Linked DNA regions of Homo sapiens: all the other regions are linked to region 3. Evidence: promoter capture Hi-C in 16 types of primary human blood cells and fetal thymus (Javierre and others, 2016). All regions are on one chromosome and are shown on one strand. Each heading gives the region's core, a stretch centred on a gene start or on the middle of the fragment in contact. The rest is flanking DNA. Distances are from core to core; before and after follow the strand shown. Region 1 overlaps RBM19 (RNA binding motif protein 19). Region 2 overlaps RBM19 (RNA binding motif protein 19). Region 3 holds the start of PLBD2 (phospholipase B domain containing 2).

The links. The method cuts DNA at HindIII sites, captures the fragments that hold promoters and counts their contacts. A CHiCAGO score of 5 or more calls a contact.
Region 1: a contact is called between a fragment that was not itself captured here and the fragment with the promoter of PLBD2 in region 3, in 1 of 17 cell types (erythroblasts). The highest score is 7.0, in erythroblasts.
Region 2: a contact is called between a fragment that was not itself captured here and the fragment with the promoter of PLBD2 in region 3, in 1 of 17 cell types (endothelial precursors). The highest score is 5.1, in endothelial precursors.

Annotation. Positions count from the first base shown.
Region 1 is chr12:113,931,901-113,935,918 of GRCh38, reverse strand. All of the region lies in intron 16 of RBM19 (RNA binding motif protein 19), which reads left to right. Among named protein-coding and RNA genes, the nearest start is that of RBM19, 32 kb to the left of the region's middle. RefSeq lists a cis regulatory region at 2,872-2,889, a silencer at 2,767-2,945 and enhancers at 2,808-2,952, 1,668-3,598, 3,202-3,885, 3,886-4,018. The HindIII fragment of the contact is 1,497 bases long and covers 1,099-2,595 here.
Region 2 is chr12:113,912,503-113,916,859 of GRCh38, reverse strand. RBM19 (RNA binding motif protein 19) reads left to right here. Exons shown (of 24, transcript NM_016196.4): 21 at 1,775-1,891. Among named protein-coding and RNA genes, the nearest start is that of RBM19, 52 kb to the left of the region's middle. The HindIII fragment of the contact is 6,170 bases long and covers 1-4,357 here.
Region 3 is chr12:113,356,681-113,360,616 of GRCh38, reverse strand. PLBD2 (phospholipase B domain containing 2) reads right to left here and starts at 2,030. Exons shown (of 12, transcript NM_173542.4): 1 at 1,727-2,030. The coding sequence starts at 2,016. It overlaps LOC105369989 (a long non-coding RNA gene), which reads left to right and starts at 1,107. Exons shown (of 3, transcript XR_945346.3): 1 at 1,107-1,287. RefSeq lists an enhancer at 772-1,271 and silencers at 1,607-1,666, 1,717-2,216. The HindIII fragment of the contact is 3,133 bases long and covers 361-3,493 here.

The DNA.
Region 1 (4,018 bases), core at 598-3,097, 580 kb before region 3:
GACTACAGGCGCCCACCACCACGCCTGGCTAATTTTTTTGTATTTTTGGTAGAGACGGGGTTTCACCATATTGGCCAGGCTGGTCTGGAATTCCTGGCCTCAAGTGATCTGCCTGCCTCAGCCTCCCAAAGTGCTGGGATTACAGGCATAAGCCACCACGCCCAGTCTAAGATTTTAGTGGAATAGACTTTGCTGTACCTAACCTCCCCTGCCTTGTCCACATTTCTCATTTCCTTGTTTCACTGTGTATCTTCAGGACTGGCTCAGCCAGCGCAAGGCATTCAGGAAGTGCCTGTCTGGAGGCCTGTTTCAATCAGGAAACAAAATCCTTCAGTCCCTTTGCGATCTGAGGACCCAGAAGCATCCCACATCGTTGGGGTTAATGATGATTGGTGTAAACCTTGTGAAAGCCCGACTCCTGCTCGTTTATGAGTTAAGCTCTCTCCACTCAGTTTGGATCAGGGTCTCCTTCAAAACCTGTGCCTGTTCCCATCAAAACAAAATTCTCTTCATGTCATCCTGGCTTGTTCTTAACTGTCTCCCCCAAATCACAGCTGCCTTGATTTTTACTTCAGTTACCACCCTTGAACCTAAGTAATGTTTTTTTTTTTTGGCCCAAAGCGAGTTCTCCTTTGAAACGCAGAGATCAGCCAGGGCTGAGCGGCACTGAAAACAAATTGGTGGAGGCCTCTTCCCGCAGCCTTGGGTGGCAACAGGAGGCAGGCTGGGGACACGTGGTGGCTCCCAAAGTGACCGCTTCCACCAGGCTCTTCATTTCCTTGTGTCCTGGGGATTATCCCTCTCTGCTGTCTTCTTTTTTCTCTAACACTTGTCACAATTTCTATTTATTCTGTTTATTTGTTACTTGTATTTGTTTCCTATCTCAGCCAGACTTTGAGCCGTGAAGGCAGGGAATGGGGCTGTCTCCTTCACTGCCCGGTACCCAGCACCCCGGGGGGCCCAGGCATAGGGAAGCTCGGTTCACAGGTGTCAAGGGAGTGAGGGAATGCATGAGAATCTGCCTCTCTGTTCCTTCGAAAGATGAGGCCGGGTCATATTTGTCTTTGTGTCCCAAGGCTCTGGCACACAGTAGAAGCTTAGTTAGGTTTGAACGTTTGGTTTTCGTTGTTAGCCCAGCCTCAGAACACAGTGGTGACAATAACACCATCAATCAAAATAATAGAGGGGGCTCCCATTTGTCCCCACTCTCACAAATGGCCCTTTATTTTATTTCAAATGCTTATCACTTCCTGGAATTGTGTCATGAATGGTTCCTTTCCCCGGTGTTGCTCTGTCGGACTCTGCCCCTGGAATGGCCACTCCACATGCCGAGACCCCATTCACCTTGCTCACGGCAGTATCCTAGCACCCATGAACGTGCCCCAGTGGCTGATAGTGATCAGGAAGTGTGTGTGAGTGAACCCAAGAGCAAAAGCAGCAGTTATGCCATGCTAGGCATGGTTCTAAGTCCTTGGCATCCTCATCATGTGAGGCCTAGAGCCCCTGGGGAAATGGCCCTGAGATTTCCAGTAAGCAGCCATTCTGTGACTGGCCAAGCCACCTGCCTCTCTGAGGCTCAGTTTCCATATCTGTAAAACGGGCATGATATCCGCCCCGCCCTCTGAGGGCGTGGTGGGATGTCACATGCACATCACCAGTCTTCCGCTGCTGTTGGTGACTGAGCAATATAAATCACAGTGCATCTTGGGAGGCTGAGGCAGGAGGATCACTCGAGTCCAGAAGTTCAAGACAAGCCTGGACAGCATGGCAAAACCCTATTTCTACAAAAAATACAAAAATTAGCTGGGCGTAGTGGTGCATGCCTTGTAGTCCCAGCTACTCAGGAGGCTGAGGTTGGAGGATCACTTGAGCCTGGAAGATGGAGGCTGCAGTGAGCCGAGATTGCACCACTACACTCAGCCTGGGTGACAGAGCAAGACCCTATCTCAAAAATTAAATTAAAATTTAGAAAAATATGGCACAGTGGATAGTCTTTAACTCACCATGGGCACCAGCCCCAAGCCAGCAGCCGAGCTGGGTGATCAAGATGGACACCACACAGATGCACAGACCCCCTTCCCCAGGAACTTTTGAGCTGTGGAGGACAATAGAGCTGTTGGGGGACAAGTGAGATGTCACAAGTAGTAATAGAAGTGGGCCCTGAGTACAGAAATGTCTGCATCACAGCACAGGGTGCATCACGGAGATAGCATGCTGTGGTTTACGGTCAGAGTGTTTTCCCACCCCCTGCCCGCGGGTCCCCCTGCTTCCTGGGTCTACATTGTAGGTTTGAGCATGTGTCCAACAGCCCCTACCTCCCAGAGGGGCTGCTTTCCAGGGCCTGACCATGACTCACACAAAGAAGGCCTTAGAGCCCGGCCGCTGGGCCTCCTTTGGCCCGGGAAGTTGTGCGTGTCTGTGCTAATTCCAAGCCCCGCTGTGTCCCGCGTCATCGGTGAATTCCCACAGAGCTGATCTCCAGGGCCTCCTCCTGCCCTCACTGCACGCAGCACATGCACAGCCCCTCCTGGCGGGTGCTGTTCTTTTCACCTGCTCCTCCCCCACCCCCACCCTCTTTGCATTGTTCCTGAAGCTTCACCAAATCCCCGACTCCCCCGTTGTACGAGGACAACGAGGGCTGGGGGGACTCAGCCAGCCCACAAAGCCCTGGATTTTCTCAGGCTCCCAAGGAAGAAGAGTAGGAGGGGAGTGGACATACCTTTTTTTTTTTATTTTACCCCCTTCCTTTCTGCAAAGCTCTCCTGTTCTCTGTACCAGTCTCGAGGGAGGGGGACAGCGTGTTTTATCTCCCCACAACCAAGACCCTCACCTCCAGATAAAGGGCTCAGAGTGGGGGGAGGTCCTGAAAAGCTGCTTGCAACTGATAACAGTCTTTGCTGTCAGCTCCAGCGCCGAGAGCCGGGAAAGGGGAGGAGGCCGCAGTAAATTCTGTGGCCTGATTATAATAAAGCCCCATGTGGCGATGCGTGACTGGATTTGATTGTGCTAACTACAGATGGAAGCACAGTTCCCCTGCCTCTCCCAACCCCCTCCAGCCCACCTTGCTTTTAGATCCTTCCCCCAACTCCCCCGCCCCCAGGCCTAGCCCTGATTCCTTTCTCACTTCTTCCCTCTTTTTCTGGTTCCTGGTGTTTTTGTTGGCAAACATCTGTTTGAGTTTCACAATACCTTATTTTTTTCTTTCCCATCTTTCTTTTGTCTCCCAACTTGGGGCCAGCAGCAGAAGTGCTTTTTAAAATGACCTTTGGCTTCATGGCCTTGGCTCCTGGCTGTCTCCACGCCTCTCTGGACACAGCCTGGCCTGGTGACTCGGGGAGCAGTAGCTGGCTGGCAAGGGTGCCCAGCTGTGGACTCGGACGCCTGGCACTGGCTGGCCTTCCTGGGAGCCTGAAGCCAGCAGCTTACCCTGCAGGGAGAAGGAGAGGGAGGGCCGAGGGCTCCCCACACTGGGTTGTCTTATCTCTCCCAGGGTTAGGGATTTCCAACATTTTCCCCTGGATTTCTCTCTCAGCAAGGCCTGCTGGGCAGTGTGGGTAGCAAGGGTAATATTAAGAACGAAACTGTTCTCTCCCAGTGCTCGCTGCAGGCCCAGGCTCAGGTCTTGCAGCCTGCTCTGCATTCATTCTCATCATCGTCCTGCAAGTAGGCACCATGATGGCCAGCCCCTTTTTAGATGGAAAGAAGGAAGCACAGAGAGTTTGCATGACTTGAGCAAGGTCACACATGTGGAGAGAGCCGGGATATGACCTGAAGCCATCAACTCTGAGGCCTGTGCTCTTACCTAAGACCTCACAGCTCTTCTCGATCACAATAAGGGCTATTTCATGATCGCTGTGTTCTAGGCACATGCTGAGTGCCCAACAGACTCATCGCCCACAAGTAGATCTGTTCTGAGCCCAGTGCTGGAGATTCAGTGCCAACTGAGTCAGACTGGGTCCTGTCTCGAGCTCCCTGTGTAGTTGGGGAGCACAGATAGAGGAGCAAACTGCTCAATACA
Region 2 (4,357 bases), core at 1,634-4,133, 560 kb before region 3:
CTGGGAATTCTGGCTCAGGGTCTCTCATGAGGTTACAGTCAGGATGTCGGCTAGGGCAGCAGTCATCTGAAGGCTCAGCTGGGGCTGGTAGATCTGTCATTAAGATGATACACTCACATGGCTGCTGGCAGGGGTCCTCAGTTCCTCACCTTGGGGATCTCTTTCTGGGACCGCTTGAGTGTCCCCATGGCATGGCAGCGGGTCTCTCCAGAGTGAGTGATCCAAGAATGGGGAAGAAGGAGGCCACAATGTCTTCTACAACCTAGTCTTAGAATTCACACACCATCCCTCTGCTGTATGCTGCTTGTCACCCAGACCTGCCCTGATACAGCATGGGAAGGGATTACCCAGGGCATGAACACCAAGAGCCAGGAATCACTGGGCACCATCTTGGAGCCTGATACCCCAGCAACCGAGGAAGTGAATTTGTAGTTTTGCTGCTTCTATTTTTTTGAGACGGAGTCTCACCCTGTCACCCAGGCTGGACTGCAGTGGTGTGATCTTAGCTCACTGCAACCTCCGCCTCCTGGGTTCAAGCAATTCTCGTGCCTCAGCCTCCCAAGTAACTGGGATTACAGGCGCCTGCCACCACACCTGGCTAATTTTTGTATTTTCAGTAGAGACAGGGTTTCACTATGTTGGCCAGGCTGGTCTTGAACTCCTGACCTCAGGTGATCCACCTAAGCCTCCCAAAGTGTTGGGATTACAGGTGTGAGCCACCATGCCCAGCCTAGTTTTGCTTCATTTTAATTTAGATTCAACTAGCCACATGTGGCTGGTGGCTGCCATATGAGACAGCATAGCCCCAGAATGACAAGACAAAAAAAAGAAAAGAAACATGATTAAATGTATAATGTACTAGCACAGGGATCAGTGCCAGGAAGAGAAATGAAGCTGGGGGCTGTGGGTGAGGGGGCTGCCATTTTAATGGAGACAGGGAAGGCCTGTGAGGAGGTGACGTGGAGCAGGCCTGAAGGAGGTAAGTCCTAACATGGTCATTATCATAACAGCTGCTGTTTATTGAATGTTTACCACATTCTGGGTCCAGTGCTGAGTCTGCTTATTAAATCTTCAAACAATCAAATTAGGTGGGCCTATCATTACACCCATTCTACAGTGGAAGAAATGGAGGCCCAGAGCGGCCATGTTACTTGCCCAAGATCGCAGAGATCCTAAGTGTCGGATTTGGCATTCACACCCAGCTTGTTAACTCCCAGCCTTGCTCACTTCCCTACCCTGTTTTGGTGGAGTGGGAGGTTTCCCTGGGAGAGCAGGGAGACAGGCCAGGTAGCACTGCATTGGGGATGGCCTTGAACCTGGGCTGAGAGTGTCCTTGCTCGCCACCTGGTCCATCTGCATGGTTAGGCCCCCGCATGTTCCTCCTCGGGTTATTGATGAAGTGTCACAAGACCTTTGGAAACCAACTGGGGTCTTTCTTTGCAACTGGAGAGAAAGACACAATGGAGATTGGGTTTGGTGAGAAACCAGCCCCACCCTTAGCGGGGCTCCTTAAGTCCCTGGTGGCCCCGGAGTCTCTCAAATGAAGGTCAGCAGCCACCCAAGCACGGATGTGTCCCCCTGACGTCTGCAGCTGTTTTGGGTCCTATCACCTGGTGGGAGACGGCCTTCCTCTCCTTTCACGTTGGTCCCGCACCCCACGCACACTCCTTGAATCCATCACCTGAATATTCTGATGGAGGCGTAGTGGAGTCAATGTTGGGCAGGAGCTGCTGAAGCTCCGAATAACTTGGACCCTCTCCCCCCACCACTCCAGGCCAGCCGTGACATTGGCTCGGAAGAAACAAGTTCCCAGAAAGCAGACCACCTCCAAGATCCTGGTGCGGAACATCCCCTTCCAGGCCCACAGCCGGGAGATCCGAGAGCTCTTCAGGTGAGAACTTCAGGTTTAGTCCAGGGGACTGGCGTGTGGGCGGGGAGCCTGCCCGAGTCTCAGGGAAGATGGCCTTTGGGTCCTGGATGGTTCCGTTGCAGGCCGGCACAGTGGTCTTTCAAAGGTCATCTTTTGGCTGCTTTTGATTTATCTCCCTTAATCTCAGATGTGGCTCCCCAGAGCACTGTGCAGGAAAAAAGTCAAAACAGCCAGGCTTCCCCCTCTCCGAGGCAGATGGAGAAAGGGCAGGCAGGCTTCCCTGTCCCCATCCACAACGTGCAAGAGGGGCAGGGGCCCCAGTGGCTAAAACCCAGCCCTACCCATGATCTGCTTGAAATTTCCTCCATCCAGGCTACCCCTTTGGTTTAAGGTGCTGGTTTTCCACCTTAGCCACACATTCCAGCCACCTGGCAATGGCTAAAATACACCTTTCCCGAGGCTGCACCCCCAGAGAGTTGGATTCCATTTTTCAACAGTGGGGTCTAGACATCGGTGTTTTGCTAAAAGCTCCCCAGGGGATCCTAATGTCCAGCCGGGGTTGGGGACCAGTGGCCTAAATGACTCTATGGAAATGAAGGCGAATTACCTGCACACATAAAGCAGTCCGTCAGCACCTGCTTGCACAGGGGTGGAAAATGCAGCTGTCGCAGGGACCCAGCCGGTAACGGCAGCAGGCTGGGTGGGGACTGAGCAGCAGGCGGGCCTCTCTCTGGTCATCCAGCTGGGATGCCATGCAGGAACTCAGGCTTCGTAAGACCAGTTCCCATGTTTTGAAAGAGAAACCAGCCATGTGGATTCTTAAGGAGAATTCATCAGCAACTAATTCACTTTTTAAAAACAAAACAAGTCTGGCCTGCCCCAGGGCCCCTAGTTGGTGATCCCTACGCTGCCATGTTACAGTGTTTGGCTTTTCAGATTAGGTAGGCACCACCCAGCACCAAGCCATGAATGAAAGAAACGTCCTCATATCAGGGCCTAAGGGGAATGCTTGAAGCCAAGGCCCCCCCACCCAAGGCATGGGCAGGGTAATAGAGAGACCATCTAGCTCTCAGAATGCAAAGGCAGATGAAGTCAGCTTCACCTAAACACATTGTTGAGGCTTCGGTGGGATCCAGGACTGCTCGGGGGACCTGCAGCACCATGGCCTGCGCGTGGGTGAACATTTAGGATTCTAGACACTAGGTCTCGTTCGTTCATTCTACACTTGCACAAGGGTCCAAGAGTGAAGCCTCTGTTAGAGTTGCCAGTTAGCATCTTGCAAGGTAATCTGTGGTTACAAAATCAGCCTTGTGTTTTGGAGATGAGAAACAATTATCTTTGTGTGGCATCTACCTTCTTTGCTCTCACTCTGTAGTTTGAAGAATAAGAAGTCATGTGGGGAACTTCAGATATCTTTGTCCTCCTTTTCCCCTCTGTTTGTTCTAAATCATACACTAGTATTCAGTTCATAAACAGATGTGGTGTGTGGTGAGCTGGGATCTGAGGCAGAGACCAATCCTGCCAGTATCTGGGAAGCAGGATCTTAGCTATGATCTCCGGGTATCCTGCACAGCAGGAATAGCCTGGCGAGATGGGGTCATGACCTGGGGGGAGGTTTCCCATTTCCCTAAACCTCGACTGATCAGTCGTCCCTCCAGGAAGGTACATATCCTTAGCCTCTCGGTATGTCTGCTTGTTTAAACATGCTCTGCTTTTTAAAAGGAGTCCAACTTAAGAACTGCCAGATTAAAACGGGCTTGCTAAGAAGAGCGCATGTTGATCGGGAAATAATATCCCGCTGAAATGACAGTTTCACTTGGTTCTGCAGTATATTTAGGATGACACTTATCCGGGGAAACAAAAGACCACAAGGGAAGAGAGAGCACTTTGTGTGATCTCATGTATTATATTTATTTTTAGAAGACAGGGAATTAGTGTCCACTGAACATAATTACATGTGGTGACTCTTCTCCTTGCCATTGTTCTGATGAGAGTTTTCTTAAAACCCTGGAAACGTAAGACCTTCTTGGAGGGCCGTACCTGCTATTGTTGTTCACTCCGGCTGGGGATGTAAGGCAGTTCCTCGTTGCAGACAGCAGGGGTCGCTGTGAGCCTTCTCAGGGACTTCAAGATTGTCCAGGGAAGCCCCAGACAGGATTTCAGACAAAGCCACTGGCCGGTAAAGGTCATTAGCCAGGGGGAGGTTTCAGGGTTTCGGGGAACCAAGCTGGTCCATTTGGGCAGGCAGGTTCTATGGGTTTCTCCTACCAGGTGTAGTAAAAATCACAACTCCCTTTTATTACACGCTTGCTGTGTGCGGGGCTCTGAGCTTGAATGCCTTCCCGTGCAGAATCACCTCTTTTAAGCCGCACAGCAGCCCTGCGAGGGATGGATGCTGTCATTCCTTTTGCACCCAGACAGAAACTGGAGATGGAAACTAGGGAGATGGAGTGTCCTGCCTGGGACCATGCCGCTGAATGGGGATTT
Region 3 (3,936 bases), core at 781-3,280:
TCCATGACCCTTTTGGTCCTACCTTGATATGAGGGAACATGCTCAGAGAGGTGAAGGGATTTGCCCAAGGTCACACAGCAGAGGGGCTGAGCCTGGAAGAACTTTCCATCCAGCACAATCAAGGAAGCCTTCTCTCCACTTCCATGTTTACCATAGTCAAGAGCAACACAGCCCAGGAGGGGCCTCCAGAGGCCAAAGCCCCCTCCCCATGCTGGGCCTCGCTCCTGCCCCTCCTCGCCTGAACAGTTCTGTCATGTCCTCTTGATTCTGCTATGCAGGGCCAAAAACATGAGTGAGTCAGCAAAGAACGGGTCACCAGATCCAAGAGTCCCGGCAGCCCCCGAGGCCAGCCACAAAGCTTCAGTTCCCTCCACAGATGCCAGCTCACTCTGTGGCCTCCTCTCTCTGGGAGCCTTCCCAGATTTACCCCAACCAGTGCCCCTGTGTCTGTGCAAATATCTCCCCCAAATCTCACGTCTACTTGATGTACCCCCCAAGTGCCACCAGAATGGGGGTGTCCTCGGCATCCTGTGTCTCCCTAACACCTGCAGAAGCCAATGGATGCCAGTAAAATGGATAGGGGCTAAAGTGGGAGGAGGCCCTTTCTGCTGCAGGGGGCAGTGTGGTCTGAGCACAGACCACATCCTGGGCACATCCTAGTGCTAGGGTTCCCTAGCATCATCTGGACACTAGGATATGACGGATGCACCCCGGGTTCCCTAGGATCCCCCAGCACAGCCTGATCCAGCGTCTGGGCCCTGCTGACAAGGCTTTGAAGCTGATCCTTCCCACTCCCACTGACTCTGATTTCTCTTCTATCGCTGTCTGTGTTTCCCACTGAGTAGAGACAGCTGCTCAGCTGTGTCCCTAAGGCCAACCATCAGGGTAATGAATAAATGAATGGGCACAAGCCCTTGTACAGAACTTGCAGCACATGACCACCCAACTAGAGCACATCCTCAAAATCTGGGCCACAGATGGGGAAACGGGAGCCCAGACAGGCGGAGGAGTTAGGTGAGACTCACACATCAGAATGACAGCCTGGGTTCCAGCAATAAAGATGGTGAGCATGGCTGCCAAACACGGCATCCAGCCAAGGACTTCCCCTTGGACCAGGACACAGAAGACAAGGGAGGAGCAGAGCCCTAGCAGGATACTAAATGGGTCTATGTGACTTTAGGGACCCTCTGCTTTTGGACTAGCCTGGAACCCAGGTTCAGTCCTGCTGACCTGGCACTGGAAGGGAGGCAGGGTGCTGGCACCCACGAGCAAGCCACAGCCAAGCAGGTAAGAATTAGTCTCCTGCTGAGTTCTCATCACCCCTCAGGCCTGGGGACAGGGGGCTGGCCTCCATGGGGTGAGGAGGCAAAGTCTAGGGAAGGGAGCAGGTCCCCGTGAGGATAGAATTTACCCACCAGCCATGGACCTGATCCAGATGCAGGCACTGCGGCCTCGGTGGTAGGGAACTGGCTTCTTGGGGACAGAAGTACTGTCACCACTGGCTGAAGGCAAGGGACTGGCCCCATGAGGTGAGGGATGCCGCAGTAGCCAGCTCCCAAACAGGGTACTTGGCCCGCAGGGCGGTGCTGCAGCCTCGGGAGTAGCTGACCCCCAGAGAAACGGGCGTTCCCACCCGGCAAGAGGCCGGTCCCGGGAACAGGCGAGGTCCGGCGCCCACGCATCCCCCTCCCCCGATGGCCCCGCGTGGGGATAAGCCAACCCTTACCCAGTCTCGCGGATGGCGTTGGTGAGGTTGGCCCAGGCCACGGCGTCAGGGTGGCGTCCGTCCACCATAAGCAGCTGGCCCGCCGAGACGTCCAGGAGCACCGAGCGGCTGCGGGAGGCTGGAGGGACCTGCCCATCGCGCGCCCAGCGGCCCCCCGGCGCTGGGATCGCCCCCGCCAGGCCGCTCAGGAACGGCCCGACCAGCAGGGCCAGCACCAGGGCCAGCGCCAGCGCCCGCGTCAGCGCCCGGGCCAGGTGGCTGCCGGGGTAGCAGTACATCTGGCCCACCATGACCGCACAATGCTGCGCCCCGCAGCCCGGGTCACGTGACTGCGCTCTGCCATGGGCGGGGCCGAGGGCGGGCGGGGCCGGGCTTGGGCTGAGCCTTTCCGGGATGGGAGGGGCTGGCGCGAGGGGAGGCCTACGGGGCGGGACCCACCTTAAAGAGCCCGGCCGCCCCTTCCACCTACGCAAACCCGGTTTAGCACACTTCCCCAAGTTTTTTTTTTTTTTTTTTTTTGAGACAAGACAAAACCTCCATATGTCGCCCAGACTGGAGTGCAGTGACGCGATCTCGGCTCATTGCCACCTCCGCCTCCCGGGTTCAAGCGATTCTCCTGCCTCATCCTCCTGAGTAGGTGGGATTACAGGCGCGCACCACCACGCCCAGCTGATTTATGTAATTTCAGTACAGACGGGGTTTCGCCATGTTGGCCAGGCTGGTCTTGAACTCCTGACCTCAGGTGATCCGCCTGCCTCAGCCTCCCAAAGTGCTGGGATTACAGGGGTGAGCCACCGCGCCCGGCCAGATTTATTTAATGGTATTTGCCATTTATTTAATACAGTTATCTAATGCAGTCTTTATTCCAACTTTTCCCATTGTCCCTCAAATACCCTTTTTACATGTGTGTGGGAAAAAGCTGTCTAACTACTACTCAAAACCTAGATGCCGTCGGGCGCGGTGGCTCACGCCTGTAATCCCAACACTCCAGGAGGCCAGGGCGGGCGAGTTCAGGAGTTCAAGACCAGCCTGGGCAACATGGTGAAACCCCCGTCTCTACTAAAAATACAAAAAAGTAGCCGGACGCAGTGAGGCGCGCCTATAGTCCCAGCTACTCGGGAGACTGAGGTAGGAAAATCACCTGAGCCCGGAAGGTCGAGGCTGCAGAGAGTCGAGATTGCACCACTGCACTCCAGCCTGAGCAACCAGAATGAGACCTTGTCTCAAAAGAAAAAAAAAAAAAAAAAAACCTAGATGCAATAAAAGATTAATGCATTTGACTGTATAAATTTTTTAACTTTTTCATGTCAAAAAACTCAATAAGCAAAGTCAAAAGACATCTGACAGACCAGGAGAAACTATTTGCAACATATATCATATATATACATTACATATATATATGTATATATATCTCAACATATATCATATAATATATCAGGAACTCTTAAAATTTGAGAGGGAAGGCCAGGTGAGTGGTTCATGCCTGTAATCACAGCACTTTGGGTGGCCAAGGTGGGAGGAATGCTTGAGCCCAGGAGTTTGAGACCAGCCTAGGAAACCTGGCAAGACTCTGTCTCTATAAAATATAAAAATTAGCTGAGCTTGGTGGTGCACACCTGTAGTCCTGTTGTGGGAAACTGAGGAACGGAGAGACCAATATGAGAGAACAGGAGGATGTTTATTTCAACGTACGCACTGGCTCAGTGGATTCACATCCAAAAAGCTGAGCCTAGAACAAAGATATTGTGGGGTTTTTATAAGCAAGCTTAGAAAGGTAAAACAAAAGTAGTTAATCATATAGTGCATAACTTGTGGCCTTGCATAGCTGGTGGCCTTGTAGCTGCATCAAAAGTAAAACAAGAACTGGCTAAATAGAGAGGTTTGTAAAACATAGTCATGCTTAAGAGACCAAGGAAAGGAATAGCAATAAAATAATTTGTCTTTCTCTCTTTTTTTTCCTTCAACCTTGCTCTGGAGGCGGGCGGTGGGGTGGAGGGCGGGGTCTGGAGCCCAGTCCTCTGGCCTTGGCTTTTCGGACAGCGTTATCTTATAACTGTCCTTGAAGTGAGCTGCTAAGCAGAGGAAAACTTGTTCTTCTTCTTTTTTAACCCTTGCCTTGCCACATTCTGGGCCTTAGCTCTTACTTCTCTTGGAGTGAATATATGTAGTACTTATTATTATTATTATTTTAATTTCTGCCTCAGTCCCAG